Linked DNA regions of Homo sapiens: region 2 is linked to region 1. Evidence: promoter capture Hi-C in 16 types of primary human blood cells and fetal thymus (Javierre and others, 2016). All regions are on one chromosome and are shown on one strand. Each heading gives the region's core, a stretch centred on a gene start or on the middle of the fragment in contact. The rest is flanking DNA. Distances are from core to core; before and after follow the strand shown.

The links. Contacts are between HindIII fragments. The CHiCAGO score rates a contact against its expected background, and 5 or more counts as called.
Region 2: a fragment that was not itself captured here is called in contact with the fragment with the promoter of GIMAP8 in region 1 in 1 of 17 cell types (M2 macrophages); the score reaches 6.0 in M2 macrophages.

The regions. Positions count from the first base shown.
Region 1 is chr7:150,449,118-150,454,779 of GRCh38, reverse strand. GIMAP8 (GTPase, IMAP family member 8) reads right to left here and starts at 4,150. Exons shown (of 5, transcript NM_175571.4): 1 at 3,605-4,150. The HindIII fragment of the contact is 1,822 bases long and covers 3,354-5,175 here.
Region 2 is chr7:150,827,139-150,832,515 of GRCh38, reverse strand. It overlaps LOC105375567 (a long non-coding RNA gene), which reads left to right. Exons shown (of 5, transcript XR_928171.3): 3 at 3,608-3,859. LOC124901775 (a long non-coding RNA gene) reads right to left here. Exons shown (of 3, transcript XR_007060591.1): 2 at 5,083-5,268. Among named protein-coding and RNA genes, the nearest start is that of AOC1, 23 kb to the left of the region's middle. The HindIII fragment of the contact is 5,212 bases long and covers 473-5,377 here.

The sequences.
Region 1 (5,662 bases), core at 2,901-5,400:
AAATGTATTGAGACATCTACTACCTTTTTATTTCAAATGCTGCATTGTGGCCAGAGAACAATGTCTGTATAAACTATTTGTCATTGGTTGAGATTTGCTTTTTGGCTCAGTGAAATTTTTGTAAGTGTTCCTGTAGGCTCAAAAAGAATGTGCAGCCTGTTACTGTGGTACCTTCCACAATCAAGGCCCCATCTCTCCACTGACACCTTAGCTACAGCTTCCCAGATGGTCCAGCACACCCTTGCCTGCACCCCATCCTCCTGTCTGCCTGGAACGTTCCTACCCATTCTCCATCACTTAGCCCAAGGACTCTGAGGCTCCATGTCAAGCCTTTCCTAACTTTTCCAGATTGAACTGGTCATCAGCTCCTCTTTGGACTTTTGCAGTAATATTAACACTGCTCCCCGGTTTCCACCCTTCTCCAGCTGTCTATTGTCCACCAATAGCCACAGTTCTCCTCTCCTGTTAAAACAAGAGACAGGTAATGTCACGCTTCATTCTAAACCTCCCCCCACCCCCAGTGACTCTCCACCCATTCAAAGTAAAAGGCAAAGCCTTTATAGTGGTCACGAGACCCTACCTTGTGCCCAGCTGCTCTCTGACCTCATCTCCCACCCCCTTCCCCTCACATTGTGTGCCATAGTCACATCAGCCTGCGCTGTACTTCAAACATGCTTGCTGTTCATCTGAACTGGGGCATTGTCCCTTGCAGACATGTGCAAGACATGTGCCTGAGCACTTCCCTTAGGTCTCTATCACACTGTCCCCTTAGTACAGGAGGCCCTCTCCAGCCTCCACCCGCTATTAAAGAGCTGTCCATGCCTCTGTGCCCCACTGACACCCCCACCCCATACCTAGCACCCGCCACTGCCACCCTAAGAGCTGTCCACCCCTCTATGCCCCACGGGCACCCCCGCCCCATACCCAGCACCCACCACTGCCACCCTAAGAGTCGTGACTCCTCTGTGCCCCCCGCCCCGTACCCAACACCCACTACTGTCACCCTTCACATCTGCATTTAGTTGCTTAGTGCTTTTTAGTCTGCCACCACTACAGGTGAGTTCCATGAGAATAAGGACTTGCTCTGTTTTTCTCACCACTGTATCTACAACATAAAGAAAGTATCTGATAAATACTTGTTTCTGAGTTGATGGTTATTGACTTGAAGAACAAGCAAAATGCAGCAGATACGCCGAAGAAAGTGAAGAGTGGGAAAGCCCTTTTTCTGTGCAGCAATTTGGTGGTTCATACCTTTTCAAAAAATGGGGTCTGTGGCACTCAGGGGAGAGGCTGCACTGCAGGGAATGACCCAGGGAGGTAGTAAAGGCAGTGGCAGGGCCCACTTTCGAAAAGGGCGAGGCAAAGCCCACAAGGGCCTTGGCAGAGGCCTCTCTCTGGAATCATCTGGATGGCTGCACGGCACGGGGCAGAGCCCACCGCAGCTTCAGACACCTCAGAACCTCAGAACCGGTCCACCAGGGGAAAAATATTTCCGGTGGGTTCAAACCTAATCAGCACCGGGGATCTTCTAAGAGCATCTTTCACCCAGATACACCCTATGGAGAGAAGCTCTCACACTAATGCCCTATCTCCTCTCTCTCCTCAATTTTCTTCATAACATTGATTCTATCTGATATTATTTATATTTTATAATTATTTATTAATTTTATTTTTAAATGTCTAAATGTTCTCTGTACTACCCTTGGTACAAAGCTCCATAACAGCATGTGCTGAAACTCCAAACATGCCTGTTTTGTTCTGTGTCCCCAGGCCCTAACATTGTGCCTGGCATGTAGTATATGCCCAATACGTGGAGGTAAAGGAATGAACGATCACAGGAGAGACAGAAATGTGAAGAAAAGAAGAAAAACGGTTTTTAGAACTGAGAGGGAGGCCGGGCGCAGTGGCTCACGCCTGTAACCCCAACACTTTCAGAGGCCAAGGCAGGTAGATCCCTCGAGATCAGGAGTTTGAGACCAGCCTGGTCAACATGATGAAATCCCCGTCTTTATTAAAAGTACAAAAATTAGCCAGGCATGGTGGTGGGTGCCTGTAGTTCCACTCGCATGTATATATATATATATATATATATATATATATATATCTCACACACACACACACACACATATACACACATATATATACATATATACACATATATACATATATACATACATATATACATATATATACATATATACATACACACACACATATATATGCAAGTGAAGTGAGATGTCTCTGTAAATTAATTTAAGAAAAAAAGACACTAGTGAGAAAACAGCAAGCTGAAGGAAGCAGAGGCCTCCCACAGGTCTGAAGAAGAAAGAAATTTCTTTCCCAATTAAGCGACACAGCCTTGCATGGTTCCCCAGCAGAGTATGACCAAACCAATGAGTCTTGGCTGGACTCCTGCCTGCAGCTCCACATGATGTCAGGACCTACACACACACACCCACATACACACACGCACATGCACACTCCTACCACACATACAGCTTCCCAGCCAGTAGCACTTCACCCCAACATGTAGAAAGTGCACTTAAGGACAAAAAGGTACCCAAACTCACCCTCACTCACGCTCTGCCAGCCCACATTTCCCTCTGCTCAATTTCCCAGGCCACTCTGGAGACCCCAGCAGAGCAACTGAGAGAAAAAGAGAGCGTTCTTCCTATAATTCACTGAAGACTGTAAAGGCAGCCTCTGCCTCCTTCTCAGGAAACAGCCCAAGGCAAACGTGGACTCAGGCATCTGAGCACAGCATCCAGCCATGCGGGGATTCATCCCACATCTAATCGCAGTTCCCACTTACAGAGCAGGGTGGTTGGAGATGCCTCCAGAGCCCAGCGTGGGGAAGACCTTAGACCCAGCCCAGCAGGGCAACCATCAAGAGGAAGGGAAGAGGTTAACTGCTGAGGACCAGGTTGGCTGAAATGTAGGTGAAATCAGAAATATTGCTTTTGGTAAGGTCTTGACCCCTCCAATCCCTCCAATGCCCAGTTCACAGAATCCTAACTGTGCAAGGGGCAGGAAAGATCAGAAAAGCAGACGTGGAAAAATCAGCATCCCCCACCCCCTGCTTTGCGGGAGGAGCTCCGCTGGCTTCCTCCTGGGGGCTGCTCTGCGGCACCATCTAGCTTCATGGGGCATCTGACCGGCTGCTTCCGCCTGCTTCTTCCTCCCTTCTGCCAGTCTCAGCCCTCCTCCTCTTCAGGGCTCACACCCACTCCCCGACACGCCTTCTTTTAGGACAGCCACTCTCATAGATGTCTGGGAATATGCCTCTGTCCCCATCCTGCCGAATCTACTCCCCAGCAGGCTGGGGAGACACGCTTTGGACCAGGAGGAAAGCTTCCCAGGGCCCCTGCCATTCAACTCTGCCATTCAACCCTGCCATTCAACCCAGCCTCCTCTCCCATGGCTGAGCAGGCTGCCTTCCCGGTGCCAAGCCCATCCTCCCCCACAGCCATGCACCAGTGCACACACATCTACACACGAGTGCACATGTCACACATGCACTGCGGTCGTGTCCCATGGGGTCCCACGGCGTCCCACAGTCTCCGAGGCTCCGCAATCCACCTGGCTCTATCCCTCCATCTCTCACCTGGGTGGAAGCAGCTGCTGGTCCCCCAGGGCACAGGATGTGAGGAAGGTGAGGAGGGTGAGGGGAGAATGGCCGGAGAGCGACCCTCTTCCCAGGCCCTGGTCTTCCTGGCAGGAGGGTTTCGGGTGTTTCTGCAAAGGAAGAGATTTCTAGAAATAGCCTTCACATCCACAGAGGCATAAATGCAGTCGGAGAGGAAGTTCCCTGTGCAGGCCACAGGCTCAGAACCTCGAGAGCCGTCGGGGCTCAGGGAGGAGCCAGCATCGGGGACACACGCGCCTTCCCTGGGTGCTGAGCGCCTCGTGGGGTCACAACACAGCAGAAACTGAGGAGCCCGGCCCGTCCCGCAGCTGCAGACTGAGAGGAGGGAGGAGAAATGACAGCAGAGGCTTGGCCAGGGGCTGGGGCGCCGGGGCCGGTGCCAGGCTGAGCTTCAGAAGGGCTGCAAGAACAGGGGCTTGGATAGGGCAGGAAAAGGACGTCAAGCCAGTTCCTGTTCCTGAGAGGACAGAGATTGTGGCGCCGCTACAAGCTCTGAGCAAAGCCAGCTCCGGGCCTCTGTGTGCCCTTAAGTGGCCTTTAGGACTTCCTCTCACAAGTCCTTCCTCGCTTCCCTTCCCTTCCCTAAAACCCACAACCCGGGGAACTCCAAGCCTGACAGACCAACGCTGCTTCTCAGGGAATGAATGCTTTTCCCCAGCTTGCAAAACGTGAAATGCTAGACTTCGATGCTTTCAAATATTTCACAAAATGAAATCCCTTTTGTGAAAGAACATAGTGTCCAAACTACCTGGTCTCTACTTCATAAGGAAGTCAAACACGGAGGAAGACTTCTTAAAAAATGTTTACTAGGGTAAAAATGATGTAACATTAATAGTACCATCCTAACCATTTCTAAGTGTATAGCCCACAGTAGAAAGTACATTCACATGGTTGTGTGCCAGATCTGCAGGACTTTTCATCCTGCAGCACCCAAACTCTCCCCATTACACCCCAACTCACCTCCCCGAACCCCAGCCCGGGTAACCACCGTTCTACTTTCCGTTTCTATGATTTTTTTTTTTTTTTTGAGACAGAGTCTTGCTCTGTCGCCCAGGCTGGAGTGCAATGGTGTGATCTCGGCTCACTGCAACCTCCACCTCCCGAGTTCAAGCAATTCTCCTGCCCCAGCCTCCCGAGTAGCTGGGATTACAGGTTCCCGCCACCACACACGGCTAATATTTGTATTTTTAGTAGAAACGGGGTTTCACCATGTTGGCCAGGCTGGTCTTGAACTCCTGACCTCAAGTGATCCACCTGCCTCAGCCTCCCAAAGCGCTGGGATTACAGGTGTGAGCCACCACACCCGGCCTGTTTCTATGATTTTTGGCAACGTCAGATACTCATGTGAGTGGAGTCCCACAGTGTCTGCCCTCCTGAGACTGAGCAGAATGCCCTAGAGGTTCATCCAAGTGAGTGCGGGACCCTCTGCGCTCTGCACAGCAGGGCCCTCTTCACAGGATGCAGAGGCTAGGGCCTCGAGGGACTGGAGCTCAAGTTAGTTTTCCAAATGTCTGAGGTGGTGCTAAGCTTTCCAAAGGGACCCCGCAGAAGGAGGAGCAGTGGGGGTGGCTGAAGTAGAGGGGCATGCTTCAGATATGAAGTCTCTACAGTAGTCAAAACCACAGGCTTTGGGGAGCTGCTGTCAGCCTATCACATCCCGAGGGATCCACCCTCCCCCTGGACTGGTCTTCATGCGCCAGCCTTGAGGACTGCTCTACCTTGTTATGAACCTGAGGGAAACCCTGGTTATGCTGGGATGGCTCAAGAAGAGCTTTGGGGACACACAGGACACATCTTGATGGGGAAAGCTGACAAAGCCCTTCCCATGTCCCACTCTACCTGTCTCCTCATTGAAAGAGGATCTATTTTGGAAGAACCCCACCCTTCCTTTACAGTAGGTCAACGCACATAAAACCAACTCATTATAATGAAAAGACAAAAACCCGAAGCCAGGTACTGCAGTTCATCCCCGCTGGGGTACTAACAGAGGCAGAGGCTCAGCAAGAAACTGTTTCC
Region 2 (5,377 bases), core at 1,829-4,328, 380 kb before region 1:
AAAAATATTAACAGTGGTTATCTCTGGGGTGTGAAATTATGGGTAATTTTTGTCTTTTTGTTATACTTTTCCATTTTTCCCAGCTTTCTCCAATGGGCATGTATTTATTTTTATAATCATAAAAAAGCAATAAAAAAGTCTATAACCAAAATATAGTGTTCGAGAAGCTCAAGTTCTTGATGAATAGTGTACTCTGAAAAAAGGCATATAATATATGGCAAAGACAAGGAGAAATTCCATCAAAATATTCTTCTTCGTTGTTGCTGGATTGTTAACCTCTTTAGGCTCCAGATTAGCTCAGAATGAGAACATTTAGCAATCTCAAGGTCTATGTTGGAGCCAGTTTCACAGTGAAGCAAAGCCCCTACCCCAGGGCACAGCAAAGTCTTTGTGCTGAGAGGAAAACAATGGCACATATGTCCCAGAGAAAGAGGCAGCTCATAATTCTTTTCCCTGGCAGCCTATTAAAGCTTCTCAGACATTGGACTAAATTCTGTCCTTCCTCCAAGAAGAAGTGGACTTCTGTGTCCTTGAATAAAACTCAAAATAAGTTATGGATATAAGCCAGCAGCTCTTCTCATGGATTGCAGAGCCAAGAGTCACTACTTGTCTGTCCTCCACATTCAGGTCAGTTTTCAGAAAAAGGAGATTTCTCACTCCAACGAGAATGCAAAGAATCCAAGGCGGCCATTGTGTCATTATTTAACAAGTTCCTTCATCCATTTATGCCCCAGTTGAATCAGATGCAGATTCTGTGCCCGGCACTGTGCTAAGTGCTTCACGTGTATATTTTATTCACTCCTCACAATGACCCTGTGAGGGTCATCAGATTACATATGAAGAAGTGAGAACCGGCTGGGCGCGGTGGCTCACGCCTGTAATCCCAGCACTTTGGGAGGCCGAGGCAGGCAGATCAGGAGGTCAGGAGATCAAGACCATCCTGGCTAATATGGTGAAACCCTGTCTCTACTAAAAACACAAAAAAACTAGCCGAGCATGGTGGCGGGCGCCTGTAGTCCCAGCTACTCGGGAGGCTGAGGCAGGAGAATGGCGTGAACCCGGGGGTGGAGCCTGCAGTGAGCCGAGACTGTGCCACTGCACTCCATCCTGGGCAACAGAGTGAGAATCCATCTCAAAAAGAAAAAAAAAAAAAAAAGAAATGAGAACCAAGATCTCAACCCACCCTGGCAGTGCTTTCAGAGCTGCACAGCCCTACCACACTATACTGCCCTTGCTGTGCAGACACAGATATGAAATGCCCTGGCTGTGCCCTGGGGGGCATGAACTAGAGTGAGTAGAGTCAGATGTCCTCAAGTAAGGGTCAAGTAAACAAGTAAGGGTCATAAAAGGGCCAGGTGCAGAGAGCGAGGTATGTACAGGGCATGGAGGAGGGAGTGGTCCAGTCACCCAGGGTGGGGCAGTGGTTTGGGAAATGTTTCCCAGAGCAGGTGGCCTTTGTACTGGGTATAATGAGGCTGACAAGGGTGACTGATTCTTTGTGAGGGGAACAGATGCTAGTGGTGAGGTTATTACAGGCCAAAGGAGCAACCTCAGCAGCAGGTTGGGAAGCACAAAGATTGACCCCCACTCTCAGCATTGGACATATATCATCTAGGCAGAAAGTCAACAAAGAGACATTAGATTTAAACTGCACTATAGACAAAGGGACCTAACAATTTGCAGAACATTCTATCCAACAACTACAGAATATACATTCTTCTCATCAGCACGTGGTACATTCTCCAGGATAGACCACATGTTAGGCTTCAAAATAAGCCTCAACAAATTTCCCAAAATCATATCAATTATCTTCTTAGAGCACAATGGAATAAAATTAGAAATCAATACAAGGAGGGAACATTGGAAACTACACAAATACATGGAAATTAGACAACATGTTCCTGAATGACCATTGGGTCAATAAGAAATTAAGATGGAAATAAAAACAGTTCCGTGAAAGAAATGAAAATGGAAACACAACATACCAAAACCTGTGAGAAAAGTAAAAGCAGTGCTAAGAGGGAAATTTATAGCAATAAATTGTTCCATCAAAAAGTAGAAACATTAAAATTAACAATCTAACAATGCAAGGTGAAGGGGCAAGTGAGCAAGAAGTGAGATAAGAAGTAGAGGTTGAGCAGCCAAAACAAAAGTGAGATTAGCTGGGCGTGGTGGTGGGTGCCTGTAATCCCAGCTACTCTGGAGGCTGAGGCAGGGGAATTGCTTGAACCAGGGAGGTGGAAGTTGCAGTGAGCCAAGATCGTGCCACTGCACTCCAGCCTGGGGGACAGAGCAAGACTCTGTCTCAAAAAAAAAAAAACAAAAAAAAAGATAATACACCATGATTAAGTGAGATTTATGCCAGGGATGGAAAGATGGTTCAACATATACAAATCAATAAATGGGATACATCACATCAACAGAATGAAGGACAAAACCATATGATCATCTCAATAAATGCAGAAACAGTATTTGATAAAATTTCTGATAAAAATTTTTGATAAAAATTGATACAATTTACATAAAAACTCTCAACAAACTAGCTATAAAAGGAACATACTTAAAATAACAAAGACCATATATGACAAGCCTATATGAATGAAACATGTCATTTGCAGCAACATGGATGGAACTGGAGGCCATTATCTTAAGTGAAATAAGTCAGGCACAAAAAGGCAAATATCACACATTCTCACTTATATGTGGGAGCTAAAAAATTTGATCATATGGAGGTAGAGAGTGGAAAGATAGAGAACAGAGATGGAGGTAGAGAGTGGAAAGATAAAGAACAGAGACTGGGAAGTGTGAGTCTGGGGAAAGGGGGAGGATGAAGATGAGGCAGGACAGTTAGTCAAGGAAGTTACTATGCCCTTGGGATTTGGCAACCTTGGTGACCTCATAGTCACCACAATAAGCCCCAGCATTCGCACTGCAGTCAAGCTCATTCAGCAAAGCTGTCTCCAGTAGGGAATTTCCCCTGTAGAGAGCATGCACATTTTGATTTTACCTGTCCTCAGACTGACCCTTTGCTCAATATAATAATAAAAAACACCCCTGGTTGGAGATTTAGGGTGCTAATGACACATGCAATGTATGAACAAGCATGTACAGGTACTGCACATGTGCACCCATCCCAGAACATGCTTCCTAGCAACACAGTTTCCCACCCCCTCATGAATAATCAGGTAAGCCTTCGATAAAGGGAGTCTCCCTCAAGTGGGTCTTTGCTATCTCATCCTCATAGGCAGCCCACCCTGAATCCCTCTTGGGGCATCCTGTCTATTCTGCACCTAACTTTCAGGGTATTCTTCCTCCTTTGCAATAAATTGCTCTACACTGCATCTCCTTTGCTGTGTGTCTCCTGTTTAAATTCCTTTAAACTAGGAACACAAGAACTGAGGTTTCACAGCAGCCATCAACAAAGAGAAGTGGGTTAAAGCATATAAATATACAGTTAGATAGAAGGAATAAATTCAATGTTTGATAGCAGAGGAGGGTGACCATACTTAACAAAATGTATTGTACTTGGGTGATGGACACCTGGAATACCCTGGCTTGATCACTATACATTACACATAAGTAACAAGTTTTCTCATGTACCCCATAGATTTGTACAAAAACAAAAAAGCACAAAAACTGGAAGCAGTCTGGAGTCTGTCAACAGGAGAATGGATGAATAAGGGAACTATCTGATTGTGGCCTATTTGATGGAATATTACTCTGCAATCAAAAGGAACAGACTGAGACTGATACACGCAGCATGGATGAGTCTTCAGGACATTGTGTCAAGTAAGAGAAGTCAGATTCAAAAGATGAAGTCCTTTCCTGAGCACTTACTACATGCCAGACACCATACCAGGTATTTGCAAGATAACGCCATCTATAGGAAGTTCTGAAGAGGCAAAAAGAACAGTGGCTGGCTCTAGGGGGTGAGGGTGAGACTGGGACAGACTGGGAAGGGGCATGAGAATGTTCTGGGGGTGATGGTAAGGCTATCTTGCTGGGAGTTTGAGTCACACAAATGTATGCATTTGTAAAAACTCATTAGATGTGCATGTGGTAGGCTGAATAATTGCTCTCCAAGAGGGTCACATCCTGATTCCTGGAAGCTGTGAATATGTTGTTTCACATGGCAAAAAGGACTCTGCAGATGCGATTAAACTAAGAATCTTGAGATGGGAGATTATCCTGCGTTATCCATGTGGAACTGATGTAATCACAGTCTTTATAAGAAGAAGGCAGGGGATCAGAGTGAGTAGGAGAGGTAACTATGAAAGCAAGAGGTTGGTGATGTGAGGAAGGGGTCATGAGCCAAGGAATGCTTTCGAAGGTGAAAAAGGCAAGGAAACAGATTGTCCCTTCAGAGATACCAGAAGAAGCCAGCCCTGATTACACCTTGACTTTGGCCCAGCCAGACTGATTTTGGACTTCCAAGAGAATAAATGTATGTCATTTAAAGACACTAAGTATGTGGTGATTTGTTACCATAGCAAGGATACTAATACACTGCCTCTAATATTTGTGCATTTCGTTGTATGTTAATTTTACATACAATGGGAAAAAATTTCATTGTATGTTAATTTTACATACGAAAGAAAAAAAGAACTGGAAACAAATTTGGAACTCTAGTTAATAATATGCATGCTGAAGCATTTAGGGGTAAGTATGCAGATATCTACTACTTACTTTGAAATGCACAAAAATGGGATGGATAAATGAATTGATACATGATAAAGCAAATACAGGAAAATATTAATTTTAGTGTCTAGATAGAGAAGTATTCACTTGTAAATTTTTAAAATTTTATTTTTGAAAATTTTCATAGTAAAATGTTGAAGGGAAAAAGGCAGAGGCTTGATCCTCGATGGTGTTTAGGAATTGTGAGTAGTTCTGCAAAGTTAGGTTGTCTGTACTGGGGTAAGAGTAGTTGGCTCAGCCAGTCAGAATGCTGGAGGAGTAGGGAAGGAGATGTGGAGGGAATATAGACTTTATCCTGAAGGCAACGAGGAGCCAGTGCAATGCTTTAAACAGGGAGGTACAGAACAGGATTTGCGTTTTCAACTCTCACTGCACAAGTCATACCTCCGACTGAATTCTTTGAACAGCTGCTTACTTGATTTGAATGCAGGTCATTCGAAGAGAAGTTAGGGCTTTAGTCCTTTACAATTCAGCTTTAGTCAAAGGGGTTCCTCTCTCTGTGTTTGCCTCATCATTGGTAGTAGGGGACAAACCTGGAGGTTCTCTCATCAACAGGTACAGATTTGAAAGCTGAAAGTTTGTAGGAAAAGGGCAGTTAATTCTGGTCTCATCTTTAAGGCTTACCTGTTCTTGGGGGTAAACTACATGAAGGACAAAAATATAAAATCTTTTTATAGAA